Linked DNA regions of Homo sapiens: all the other regions are linked to region 1. The links are contacts of gene promoters, found by promoter capture Hi-C in human tissues and cell types (Jung and others, 2019). All regions are on one chromosome and are shown on one strand. The core of a region is centred on a gene start or on the middle of the fragment in contact, and the rest is flanking DNA. Distances in the headings are between cores, read along the strand shown.

Region 1 (3,210 bases), core at 521-3,020:
TCTCCTGCCTCAGCCTCCCGAGTAGCTGGGACTACAGTTCCCCGCCACCACACCCAGCTAATTTTTTGTATTTTTAGTAGAGACAGGGTTTTGCCATGTTGCCCAGGCTGGTTTCTAACTCCTGAGCTCAGGCAATCCGCCCGCCTTGGCCTCCCAAAGTGCTGGGATTACAGGCGTGAGCCACCGTGCCTGGCCCACACACTTTTTCCTTTAACTGCCCCCTGGTGCTGGCAGGAACTGTGCAAGCAGAAAAACTGGTGACGAAGTGGAGAAAACCATATTGGATGTCCTAACCCCCCACTGTCCACCATTATTGACCATAGGCTCTAGGTCTAGCACCCACCTTCGTGGACCTTTACCTATTCTTCTATCTATAAGAGTTGAGGAAGGGGGAGGATGGGAGAGGGAGCTAGATGCTTTGTAAAGGTGCCTAGCCACACTTTCCCCTTCTTCACTTTAGGCTTTCTTAAAATGCACATGTGCAGGGAAAGGTAAGCCATTAAGTCATCAACACCTTAGTGAGAGTGAATTTTACAGGAAAGGCAAGAGATTTAGTAAAAGGGGAAGGAATGGAAAGAGAAAGGGGACTGGAAACACAGTTAAGTGAGTTTGGTACTAGCAAAAGCCCCAGAGAAGACCCTGAGTTCTCGCTAGTTGTTTTGTGTTGGGGGAGGGAAAGCAGTGGATCCCTTCTAAGGGAAGGGAAGCCAGAGAGATTTTTCAGTTCTCCTACGACTCCGAGGTTCCAAAGACTCTGCCCTGTCCAAGCACCCAGGCACAATTCCACTGATTAGCTCATCTCATATCACAACCTCCCCCATCCCCAACCCCTTGCCTCCAACTAAAGAATATTTATACTTTCATCTCCATTTCCCACACTACTTAGTCTTCTCTGGCCCACGGTTCCCTCGAAGAGATGTCTTCCTCCAAGCCGCTAGCTGGCTTCAGGAAACTCCTCAACCTCCAAAAACCCCATTCAGTGCAGGACTCTCCAAAAGGCCGTCCCAGGGACCAGAAAATCAAACCCCCTCCCTGGAACTTCCTTTAACTTTGTCCACGCCTTTGCTCCAGCACTTAGCATTTTCTACCCTAGGCCAGGTTTGACTCCCAGGTTCAACTGAGTTCCTTGAGGGCAACGTCCAATACACCCAGCACAGGGTCTGCCACACACAGGGTGCTAGAGAAATGCTTAGAGAAAGGGAACTTAAGTCCGGAGCCAACTATTTGAATTATGGTCTGGCCTCTAGTAAATAACTTCCGGGCGACCCTCCTTCTCTCTGGGCCTCAGCTGCCCCAACTGTAAAATGGGAGGACTTGGAGGACTGGGTCTAGGCCCTTTCCGCTGTGACAACTGTGATTCCGCGAAAGCTCTAAGCGGATGGGCGTGGCCCCGCCCCCTGGGCGCCCAGAAAAGTCCGGGCAGGGGGCGCGCAAGGCTCCAACCCCGCCTAGCCTGGGGTCGACGCTTTTGGAAAAACTCTGGGTCCCCCTCCCCCATGGCGTGCACCCCGTGATTGGGCCGCGGCCGGCACTTCCGCACAGCGGGCCAGGCCAGAGCAGGGCGCGCGCCCTGCGCTCTTGCCACCCCGGAGGCGCTCGCGCCGGGGGAGGGCTGGGGGTTCCCGAGGCGCCCGCGGGTGGAGGGTGAGGGGAAGGAAGGATTTGCAACAATACCTCAGGGAGGAGGCAGCCGGGGCAGCGGCGGTGGTGGTGGCGGCGGCGGCGGCGGCGGCGGCGGCTGGAGGCGGAGGCAGAGGCAGAGGAGGAGGTGCCCGGGCACTCCCCCTCCCATTGTCCCCAGCCCCGGACAGGCCCGGCCCCGCGCCCCACACTGGCCTCCTCGAGCGCGCCGCCCGCGCCCAGCGCCCCACGCCCCGCGCCCCGGGCCGTGCAGCCAGCCCTTACCTTGCAGCGCCCGGCTGTCTCCCGATCGCTAAAGCTACTTATCCCGGGAAAGCTCGCGCGGGACCCGGGAACGAACCCACAGACAAAAAGTGAAACTTCGGCAGGGCTGGAGCGGCTGCTGGTTGGTGCCTTTCCCCCTCCTTCCTCCCCACCGTCCCCACCCCCTCCCCTTGGTCTCCCGTGCGGTGCCCTGAGCGCTGGAGGCTGACGTCAGGGGCCTGAATTCCTGACTTTGCCTGCACGCATTTGTCCATGTAAGGTATGGGAAGGCGTGTGCCCGCGAAGCCGCCGCGCAGAGCTCGCCTGGCGGGGGAGGGGAAACCCGCAGCCGGCAGTGGCTTTGCCAAAAGGTGGGCGCACTGAGGGCATTGCATTTCCTGGGAGGAAGAGGAGGAGACGCGGGAATGCAGGGAGCTTGCAAAGGAGGAAGAGAAAGAGGGAGATGTGGAGACTTTGCCCCTGCTAGAGGAAGAGGAAGGAGACGTAGGAGGAAGCGGCCGCGTCAGGGGGCTCCTGGAAAATGGAAAAGCCTGCGTCTACTATTAAGGCGTCAAATTAGGGCACTGAGCTTGAGTGGAAGAGATCCAGCCATGAAATCCCCTTCCAAGATTTTCCTCGTGAGCCCCGCCCTGGATTCCCAGCAAGACTCAAAACTTACAAGGTGTCAGAGCTGGCAAAGACCAACTTCCAACCCGTCCGCTTGGCACGTGAGGAAACTGAAGCTCTCGGAAGAGAAATGACTTGTACAGGGTCGTCACTCAGCAGATCGAGGAGCGGGCCCAGGCGCTCTGCCTCCCACTTGGGTTCCCGCCTCCAGGAAGGGCCCTGGCTCCCTTTTAGCCCTGAGCCTTGAAGCAGGTTAGATGCCCGCGAGCTGTGCGGACCACCCAGTGATTTCTACTGCTCTTGGCCCAGAGCCAGTTCCTGGAAGGTCCTGGTTGACAGCGAGCCCTGAATATCAATGACAATCAGTTGCTTCAGGGCAACTTCCTCTGTCCTGTGCTCAAATAAATGAATCCCTGGAGTTTAACGTTTACTTCTGAGCCCCGCCCAGAAAGCTTGCTCTGTGCTTATAGCTTCAAAAAAGTCTGCGAACGAGATGAACTGGTTTGAATACAGACAAGCCTGTCATTGGAAGTTTTGAGTTGGATTTTTCTTTCCCCTCTGACATCTGTAAGGGTGAACGACGATGAGAACCACCACTTAACTGTGTTAGGGGATTATGACGCGCAGCAGCCATGGCCAGGAAAGCATTCCATACCCTGAGACTTCCTTTCCTTGCACTTCTCTCCTATTAATATCTAA
Region 2 (3,197 bases), core at 400-2,899, 620 kb before region 1:
CTAGGAGAAAGTGAGATCTACCGAATGACACATTGGGACAGGTCTCTTCCTCCATGAAGACCTTCTTTTTGGATTCCTCCTTTTGCCCCCAAATCCTCCTATGCCCCCTTCCACTAGTTCTTTCCTGAGGCCCCAACACATTTAGCGCGTTCCATTTTGTGGAGAAACTACGTGTACATGTGTTATGCTAAACAAACAGGATTTATTCAGATTATTTGCTTAAACTAGCATAAAATTATAGACATTCATTTTTAAAGGAATATATTTTAGAAGATTCAATTTTATTTTTACTAACACGTCCCATGAGCTTTATTAATATAAATTGCATCAAATATCTTTTAACATTATTAAAGAGTGTGTAAAGTAAAAATAACTTCTGAGGAAGATGTTTAATATCTTTTCCAAAATGACAGATATAATTAAAAAGTCATCACAGATGTGTGTTTGTGATTTTAAGGTTGCTTAAATAGTCCTCAGTGCAGCCATCCAATTGCAATATCCCAAGCAAGGCATTCCTCGCTCTTGTCTTATTTCCCCATACTATAAATGTAGGAGACTGAATTAAAAAAATTTATATATATATATATTCTTTGAAGACCTACATAATACCAGGCCCTTGTCCTTGTGAAGTATTCAAAAAAAGCACCTGTCTTGCTATAATGATGATGTCAGCCTTGGCTGGCATCCCCTTACTCTGCAGGGACAAGAGCAAAAAAAAGATCCAGGGAGTAGACTTTATTTATTCATTTACTTATTTTAAGTAAGCCCTGGCTGTGGGAAGGAATTACCGTGTCCCATTCAAAGTCATTGGAATATCAGAGAACTTCCACTCAAACTCCTTGGCAATTTTCATGGGTGAGTCAGTGTGTTTGACCTTGAGTGTAGTAGCTCTTATGATCATTCTACGGCTGGAAGCTAGACAGCTGGCTTCACTCTCACATCTTTCCCTTCAATCTTTGATATTTACATTTCAGCAATGACTCTGTTCATAGTCTCTCAGAGCCAAGTTCTCCTCCTTCCTTCTTATACATACATAGTCTCAGGTCCTAGGTGCACGAAGGGGCAAGCAAAGGGTATGTGAGTCAATGACTGTGGGGAGACATAGTGCTAGAGTGACACAGGCTCCCCCCAAATCCCCCTCACTATCAGAGCAGCAATAGGTTCACCTATTATGATAAGCACTACAGAAAAGACAAAGACGAATTAAAGGTGACCTCCCTGCAGTCAGGAGATCGAGATCATCCTGGCTAACACGGTGAAACCCCGTCTCTACTAAAAATACAAAAATTAGCTGGGCTTGGTGGCGGGCACCTGTAGTCCCAGCTACTCGGGAGGCCGAGGCAGGAGAATGGCGCGAACCCAGGAGGCAGAGGTTGCAGTGAGCCAAGATGGCGCCACTGCACTCCAGCCTGGGCTACAGAGTGAGACTCTGTCTCAAAAAAAAGAAAAGAAAAGAAAAGAAAAAAGGGTGACCTCCCCGCACCCCGCACAGTCTTCAAGGGGTTCCTGTCAGTACTGGAGTGTGTCAAGGATGCCAGTGACTTGATAATACCAGTTGTGGTGAGGATCAATCCTATGAGAGATGTGGAAATGAAAACCTTGCATGTTCAGAAATGGTTACATCTAGTTGGTTAAGTTCCAGGAAAGCATTTTAAGGCTGGAGATCGGAAAAGGCAGAAGGTAGGCAACCAATGGCATGGGAATAGACAGAGAAACCTCCATATCAATGTCCAGGAGAAGAGTCCTCACCTTGGGCAAGTGTTGTAAAAAGAATGTGTAGGAGAGCTGATGGGAGATAAGAATGCAAACATATTTTGGGACCAATTTTTGCATGAGCTTGACTGGAAGTACAGACTAGTGGATTTCAAACTTGACTGTGCATAAAAATTTACCTCCCAACTCCCTGCTGTCCCAGGAGCCTTGCAAAAGATGCAAAGTTCCTGTCTCCTTGTGCAGAAATTCTGGGGAGGAGTCCAGAACTTTACTTTTTAATGAGGAGTTCACAGTGATTACAAAGCAGGTGACCGCTGACACATTTTGAGAAAACCGAGCTCCTAGTCTCATGACTTGCCATCTCTCAGACTCCACAAGTTCTCAAACCAAGTGGGTATGCAAGTAATATTCCAGAGCCTGAAATGCTGACTTACAGTTGTCCTTTGGTGATTCAAGTTAGGCAAAATTCTCTCTTGCAGATTTGTTATGTGTCTAACTGGGGCTAAGCCCTGGTACAGTTATTTACGACTCAAAGCCCCCACACTGATTTTTGTTCAGTCCTGTCCTCTCCGAATCCTCATTTCACCCTATAACCATGTGAGCTAAGAAACAGTACTTTCATTCAAGTGCCTCTTTCTTTCTTTCTTTCTCCCTTTCTTTCTTTCTTTCTTTTTTTTTTTTTTTTTGAGATGGAGTCTCACTCTGTCGCCCAGGCTGGAGTGCAGTGGCACAAATCCCAGCTCACTGCAACCTCTGCCTCCTGGGTTCAAGTGATTCTCCTGCCTCAGCCTCCCGAGTAGCTGGGATTACAGGCTTGTGCCACCACATTCAGCTAATTTTTGTATTTTTAGTAGAGATGGAGTTTCACTATGTTAGCCAGTCTGGTCTCGAACTCCTGACCTCAAGTGATCTGTGCACCTCGGCCTCCCAACGTGCTGGGATTACAGGCGTGAGCTACTGTGCCCGGCCTCTTTTTTCTTTTTAAATTTTTTTTGATAAGATCACAAATGAATTCATTCCTTTTATGAATTATTAGTGACTTTTACAATATTATTGGTGAATTCTACAATGTTATAATATATAATGTGAATTGTACAATATTATAGAATTAGTGAATTCTACAATATAATAGAATTAATGAATTCTACAGTATAATAGTGAATTCTAACAATATTATAATAGATAGTACAAATGAATGCAGATCCATCTGGGCAAAAATAAACTACAAAGAAGGGAAAGATGTAACAGTCATTGCCTGCATGGGACAATCCTGGAGCTGAGCACGCTAATGTTTTCAAACTGTTTTACAAAGTCAGATGTGAGAACATATAACAAACTGGTTTGCTCTTATTGTTTGTTTTCATTCTAAGTGTGAGGAAACTGAAGCTAAAAGTAAAGGGAAGAATGCAGAATAGCAGCTGGCTGAGTGTGAACCAGGTCTCACTTTAAATTCTATATTCTTTCCTTAAAATCATTTACTGCCT
Region 3 (3,317 bases), core at 253-2,752, 520 kb before region 1:
ATGTAGTTGAAGATTTGGCCGTTTCCACATAAGTCAGAAGCAAGACCACCCTGGGACCATGTTTGGGCTATTCCAGGGCTACAGTTTGATTTCAAGTATCAGCGTCCTCTGTCATTTCCAAATTGTCAAGCTACTGTCTTTGAGTAAACAATCCCAGGCAACCACCCAGACCTAGGGTAGGTGGGAGAAACAGCACTGATGTAAACACCTTAAACACATCCATCATTTAGATGACAATGGACAGTCCGGGCTCCTGTTGTACTTCCATAACATTTGTTAGGCTGAATTGTGATTTGGTAAGATAGATCCTAAATTTCAAAACTCCTCTTAATGTAAATTCAAACTTAATTTCACTGGCATGCAAATGACAGAGCAGCTCATGGAACGCTTCCCTCCCCCTCTCCCATTTCCCAGCAGAAGTTCTGTTATATCATCTCTAGGACAGCCACAGGAAGATTTAATAACAGCTTTTAAAGAAGCCCATTTCATGTAATTCAACTTGATTCAACAAGTATTTCTCTATCAGTTTCAATCTTATTCAACTTCCATATACAGTAGAGTAAGAGGGCATCTCTCCTGAAGAGATACCAGAAACTGAGGAGCAGATTTATGAATTTCACAAAGCCACAGATAAATCAAATATTAAATAAAAGACCCTTAATGATTTTGAGGATGGGGATAACAAGTCACATTCACTTAGTAACTATTATGTAGAAAACGAAAGGTGAAGAAAATGTTAGATTCTAAAAGTAACATAATTGTATTAGCTATCTATAAAACAATAAAGACTTGGCAGAGTAAAACAACATACATTTATTATCCCACAGTTTCTGTGGGTCACAAGTGCAGGTATGGTTTAGATGGGTCCTCTGCCTCAGGGTCTCATTGTCTACAAGCAAAGTTAGGCTGGGGTGGCAGTCTCAACTGAGGATTGACTGGGGAAGGATCTGCTTTCAAGTTTGCATGATTGTCGTCAACAGTCGGTTCCTTGCAGGCTGCTAAACTGATGGCTTCAGTTTCTTGTCAGCTACTAGGTGCCCTCACTCTTTACCACATGGACCTCTCCAGGTGGCAGCTGACAACATGGCAGCCTGTTTCTTTAAAGCCTACAAGGGTGAAAGTCCCCTCATAGAACAAATGTTACAGTCTTATATAACACAATCACACACAAGTCATCAAAGACTACATGTGACCTTTGCTGTTTCTATTGGCTAGAAATCATAGGTCCCTCCCACACTCATTGGGAGGCAATTACACAAAGGCATGAATACCACCACGTGGGAATAATTGAGGGCACCTTAGAGTCTGTCTAATGTCATTTTGTTCCCTCTGTATAAGGATCTATAAGGCCACATTGGTCTTTAATGCAGGAGAGGGGCCTTCATTTTCTGAACAAGAAAGACCTTTAGATGTTGATGGAGATTTTACCCTTTACCCTGGCACAATTTGTTTAAAACGTAATGCAGAATTTTACCTTTTTCAAGTACAAAGACATATAACAAAGAACGAAGAAAACTGTTGTTTGTTTTAATCTTTTCAAATATAATTTTTGCACAGGGTTAGAAAATACACGTTTTTTGGAGATGCATTAATCCCATTCTGGAGTTCAAATGTGTTCTCAACTTCAGTGCTAATGACCTGTCTTCTACCTATCTAAATTACCTAAGATGTGGCGACACGGAGTAGACTATTGAAAACACTTAATTGACAGCTTGTACCCGCTGGCTGCCCTTTATTTACATCTATGTAGCTTCACCTGAATACAATGTAGCTGTTTCAGTATTTTAGTGTATCTCCCCACTATGTGCAAGGCAGGATTTTGTCTAGATTATTCCATGAATACACAAATCTAATCTTCAAGAATTCGATTCCACCAGAATACGGTGGTGACTGCTACCTATTTTTTTTAAAAACGTTTTCACTTTTCTAATATTTTTCCCTTAAAAATCTTTTTATCTATTACAGACCAAAGCCAATTCTCATTTAGAGACTAGTAATCTTTCATTTCCAGTATAGTAATCTTTCACCCCTAGGATTCTTTCTCTTAAATCAAAAAGAGGATTCCAATCACCAAAACTTAAAACAGAATTCCAATGTAAGAGAGAGGATTGCAGCAGTCGGGGCAGTACAAGAAAACACTAAAAATTAGGAACTCTGAAGACATGATTCCTGGGTGCTTTCTATAACAAAGTCAGGCTTCAACATTTCTGAGGAAAAAGAACATACCTTTTCTGATACATATTAAAATGGTTAATATATGCCTATGTAATGCAAATGAGCAATCAGAGCTCACTAAGAACTTTAGAATTATTAAATGTTGGAGTTGAAATAGAACTTTTTATTCATCCAGTTCAATCCCTGTAATTCCAGAAGGACATTTGGGGCCTGAACGGTTACATGACTTGTCTAAGGCTATAAAGCCACTCGACAGTAGAAATAGAACTAGAACAATGATATACTGGCTTCTAAGCTTAGCACAGATTACTACCAACACCCCTTGATGTGTTGTCCTTCATATACAAACATACATCATCCAGAAGGCATATACTTGAAGCTATTTCTCTAATTTGCTAGGAGCTATTCACAGTCTTAGCCCCACCATTCTTTATTTACTTCTTTGCTTTGTGTGTATGCGTGGTTTGTTTGTTTGGTCTACTTGTTGAGCAGTTAAGGAAGCCAACTAATGAAAAATGAAGATCCAGGCTAGCTGTCCAGATTTTGCCATACCTCAGGGCTTGCCGCAACCCACTTCATTCTGTCTGTGAGAACTTCCCAGTATACCCTAGCCCACACTGGCTTGACACACTGCTTCATCTCTACAAATGACTCTAATCAGTACCACAAGTCTGAACAGCTGTTATGTAATCGTTCAATTCCTCCATCTTTTCATTTACCTTCCAGCAGGGCTGGTCCTCTTCTTTTGTATTATACTCATAACTAAGGCTAATGCTGTGGGAGAAATTTCTTCAAAAAATTTCTGAATTACTCCTATGCCCTCGTAATCACAATTATTCCAAACAGGGCAGGATTAGAATGGCACCTAAAAAGTAATATTGCCAAGGACTTATGCAACACAATAGTAATATTCATTCACACACTTCTAGTTGCTAAAGCAGCATGCATGTCCTGTGATAATAAACTTTGAAGTAATAAATATGTCACAGCCTCGGAAGGTTCCAACACTTGATCTTCTGGATGGTCTTTCTATGAGGTGGAAAAAGCATAGACTTTGAAGTCAGAGATGCCTAGGTTCAAAGTTTAGCTTTGCACACCTACTCTCGTACAAGGTATTTAATATCTCTGGGCTCCAGATTCCA
Region 4 (3,235 bases), core at 502-3,001, 780 kb before region 1:
TGAAATGAAAGAAGAAAGACAAAGAACAGTGGATGCAAGTAGGAAATGTGTACTCTGGGCCTGCCTCTCTGTCGCCAAGGGGTTGTAGGTTCCTGAGCGAGCTACAGGCTGCTCCCCGATGAAAAGAGGACAAAATCCTGGCTTGCCAACCTTGTAGGATTGTTGTGAGGATCGGAGGAGATCCTGGGTGTGAAAAGGACTTAGAAACTGTAAGTTTTCATACATTTTGAAAGATTTTTGTTATCATACGGTGAGTTGTAAAGAGGAGAAGTAATTGGTATTTTTCTCTGGACTGGAACTTTGAATCACAAAGCAGCTAACTCAGCAGCTTTGGGGCAGACCTAGGGGAAAAATTCTGGCCTCCAGCCTCATGTCCCAGTTGTTAAAACCCAGCACATTTCTCTAGAATAGAATGCATCATATAGACGTAATCTTTAAAAGTAACCCAGGGGGACTCTCCAGGCCTTTCCTGCAAAACCCAGAGGACAGTTGTGCTGACTCTGTGAAGCCTGTACTCTCTCCCCAGGATTAACCTTCAGAATTAGAGTCAGAAAATCGGCACTGAAGTCTACTGTTTCTGAGAAAGTTTCCTGGCATTTAGCTAAAGACCAACAACCCTGTGAGGCATGTGCTGTTATCGCCCCATTTTCAAGATGAGGCTTGAGGTTGAGAGAGATGAAGTGGGCTCAAGCCTATACAATGTCAAGGCCCAGATCTCCTCTGTCTGAGCTCCTGGGCCTTATGGTCACTGGGTGTGGGATCAGAAAATCAGTCTGTGGGTGTCAGAAGCAGAGTTCCAAGCTAGGCTGGGATAGAGGTGGGTGGATGTCTTCCCCACCTGCCAAGTACTTACTCTCCAGGAAGGTTCTAGGGGCTTCCAGGAGAAACACCTCTAACCTAGTAACAATAGCACTGCCAGCCTGGAGGGTGAAATTGACGGGCTTGACCTTCTCAGTTCTCTTCCTGGCTTCTGCACTGCAAGGGCTCTTACAGGGAACTGTTACAGCCAGGACAAATCTCCAGGATCTTCCCATGGCAAAGGACCCTCTCTTGGGCGGCACTCCAACGTCAGTCTCACTCAGGCTCTGTCTGCACAGCACGAGCAGCTTCCCAGCCAGCCACAGCCTCATCTGAGGGCAGCGTGGATCCCAGTGGGCATTTGGGAACGCCTGTAATAGGCTCTGATCAGGGTGAGACTCCGGAGAAAGGGCTGTCTTCCTGGAGGTAAAGCAGGTGTTACAAACTCTAAGGCTCTCCGGGCCCCTGCGATCTTTGTGTCAGATTTTGTTTTATCTGCCTGAGCCATTGATGATATAAGTTCCAGTTCAACACTAGGGGATATGGGCTCTAGGGTACCCTTAAGCCAGAAACGTTGCTGAATATCTAGATCTGGAGCCAAGACTAGAATCCCATATGGAGCACACTCCTCCTTTTCCAGGTGTGGGGGTAGATAGGTCCCCCGCCTCACCAGCAGCTCTGCCCCTACTCATCCCAAGACGCGCCACCACTCACAGCTATGTTTCAGGGAAGCCCCGGAGCCCTCAAGATCCCACTGTGGGTTTTGGTTGTCCTCATAGCTCAGCCTCCCACGGCCCCTGACTGTGGTCTGGGGCTTCCTGGACTGGGGTCTAGAGATTTAGGCTTTTTGGCTGCAAAAACCCTAGCCCATAGATCAGGCTGATTCTGGTCCAGGGCTGCAGGAAAGCACCCAGGCCTGGGCCCATCTTCTGGGGGAGGCACTGTGGATGGCGGGGGTGCGGGGAGCTCCAAGAGGGCTGTGAGTGTGGGGGTAGCACGGGGTCGTGGAGGACGAGGACAGACAGAAGCCACGTGCAGGCTCCTTTTGTTCTACCCTCTTCCAGGGAGGAAGCAGGTCAGCTTCCCTGGCCTCTGGCAGTGGGCTGGGGGATCTAATTCTAGCATTTGTTGGGCCTATATGTGCAGACCATGGAAGGGCTTTCTGGGACTGGAAACAGGCTGGATCTTCCCTCTCCACAGGGTGAAGGCTGCAGGGTTGGGGCAGAAAAAGGAACAGCCATGGAATTTCAGGCCTCAGAATTAGACATTCCTTGGAAGGCTCTGGGCACAAACTTGGACTGGAGTTGGTTCAGACAGAATTTGTGAATTTGTGGGTCTTGTAGTATCTAGGGAGAGGGAAAAGATTGGAAATCCCTGTGACATGATTGGGCTTGGTTGAATGGCTACAGTCTCTGCAAATAAGTCCATGAGTGTTTTGCTCAGAGCTCTCCTGGTCAGGCAGAAGAGGGCATTGCTGAGCAGAATCCTGTAAAATTCTGACAGGAAATCCAGGAGCGGGCAGGTGAAAGGAGTAGGTTGTGAGAGTGTGATTTAGAGTGGCTACACTAGCCAGATGGCCGTGGGGGTGGGGAGGCCTAAAACTTTCTATTTTTATTTTTTGAGACAGGGGTCTCACTCTCCCCCAGGCTGGAGTGCAGTGGTGCAATCATAGCTCACTGCAGCCTCCCACCTCAGCCTCCTTAGTAGCTGAGACCACAGGCATGCGCAACCATGCCCAGCTAATTTAAAACATCTTTTTTTGTCTTTCTGTAGACACAGAGTCTCCTATGTTGCCCAGGCTGGTCTCAAACTCCTATGCTCAAGCAATCCACCTGCCTCGGCCTCCCTAAGTGCTGAGATCACAGGTGTGAGCCACCACACCTGGCCTGGCCCAGAGCATTTTTTTTTTCTTTTTTTTGAGACGGGGTCTCATTTTGTCACCCAGGCTGGAGTGCAGTGGCGCGATCTCGGCTCACTGCAAGCTCCACCTCCCGGGTTCACGCCATTCTCCTGCCTCAGCCTCCCAAGTAACTGGGACTACAGGCACCTGCCACCACGCCCAGCTAATTTTTGTATTTTTAATAAAGACAGGGTTTCACCATGTTAGCCAGGATGGTCTCGATCTCCTGACCTCGTGATCTGCCACCTCGGCCTCCCAAAGTGCTGGGATTACAGGCGTGAGCCGCCGTGTCTGGCCACCCAGAACATTTTTAAGTCAGTCAATCCTTTCCACCGCCACGTAGCCTCCCCAAAAGGCTACAGGAAGCCCAAGTCTGTGGACACAGGCACCTTGTCAGGAGAACATAAGTCCAGGCAAAGGGAGAAGGCAGCCAGGAGAGGGTCTGTGTGAGGAAAGGTAGGGCCAGCTGAACATGGTCAGCATGGTTGGAGGCAGGTGAGTAGAGATTCAAGCAGTAATTTGGGGTCAGGGGGCCTA

Evidence for each region. The method cuts DNA at HindIII sites, captures the fragments that hold promoters and counts their contacts. A contact is called where the count stands out against the background at its distance.
Region 2: a fragment that was not itself captured here is called in contact with the fragment with the promoter of LPP in region 1 in 1 of the 25 tissues and cell types used here (aorta).
Region 3: a fragment that was not itself captured here is called in contact with the fragment with the promoter of LPP in region 1 in 4 of the 25 tissues and cell types used here (IMR-90 fibroblasts, aorta, heart left ventricle and 1 more).
Region 4: a contact is called between a fragment that was not itself captured here and the fragment with the promoter of LPP in region 1, in 2 of the 25 tissues and cell types used here (hippocampus and liver).

What each region holds. Positions count from the first base shown.
Region 1 is chr3:188,152,717-188,155,926 of GRCh38, reverse strand. It overlaps LPP (LIM domain containing preferred translocation partner in lipoma), which reads right to left and starts at 1,770. Exons shown (of 12, transcript NM_001375462.1): 1 at 1,675-1,770. LPP-AS2 (LPP antisense RNA 2) reads left to right here and starts at 1,839. Exons shown (of 1, transcript NR_036497.1): 1 at 1,839-3,210. RefSeq lists enhancers at 1-535, 2,335-3,210 and a silencer at 1,563-1,902. The HindIII fragment of the contact is 14,765 bases long and covers 1-3,210 here.
Region 2 is chr3:188,770,752-188,773,948 of GRCh38, reverse strand. The region is part of intron 9 of LPP (LIM domain containing preferred translocation partner in lipoma); the gene reads right to left. Among named protein-coding and RNA genes, the nearest start is that of MIR28, 84 kb to the right of the region's middle. The HindIII fragment of the contact is 7,685 bases long and covers 1-3,197 here.
Region 3 is chr3:188,674,716-188,678,032 of GRCh38, reverse strand. The region is part of intron 7 of LPP (LIM domain containing preferred translocation partner in lipoma); the gene reads right to left. Among named protein-coding and RNA genes, the nearest start is that of MIR28, 12 kb to the left of the region's middle. The HindIII fragment of the contact is 8,330 bases long and covers 1-3,317 here.
Region 4 is chr3:188,928,379-188,931,613 of GRCh38, reverse strand. No RefSeq gene overlaps it. Among named protein-coding and RNA genes, the nearest start is that of TPRG1-AS1, 18 kb to the left of the region's middle. The HindIII fragment of the contact is 5,790 bases long and covers 1-3,235 here.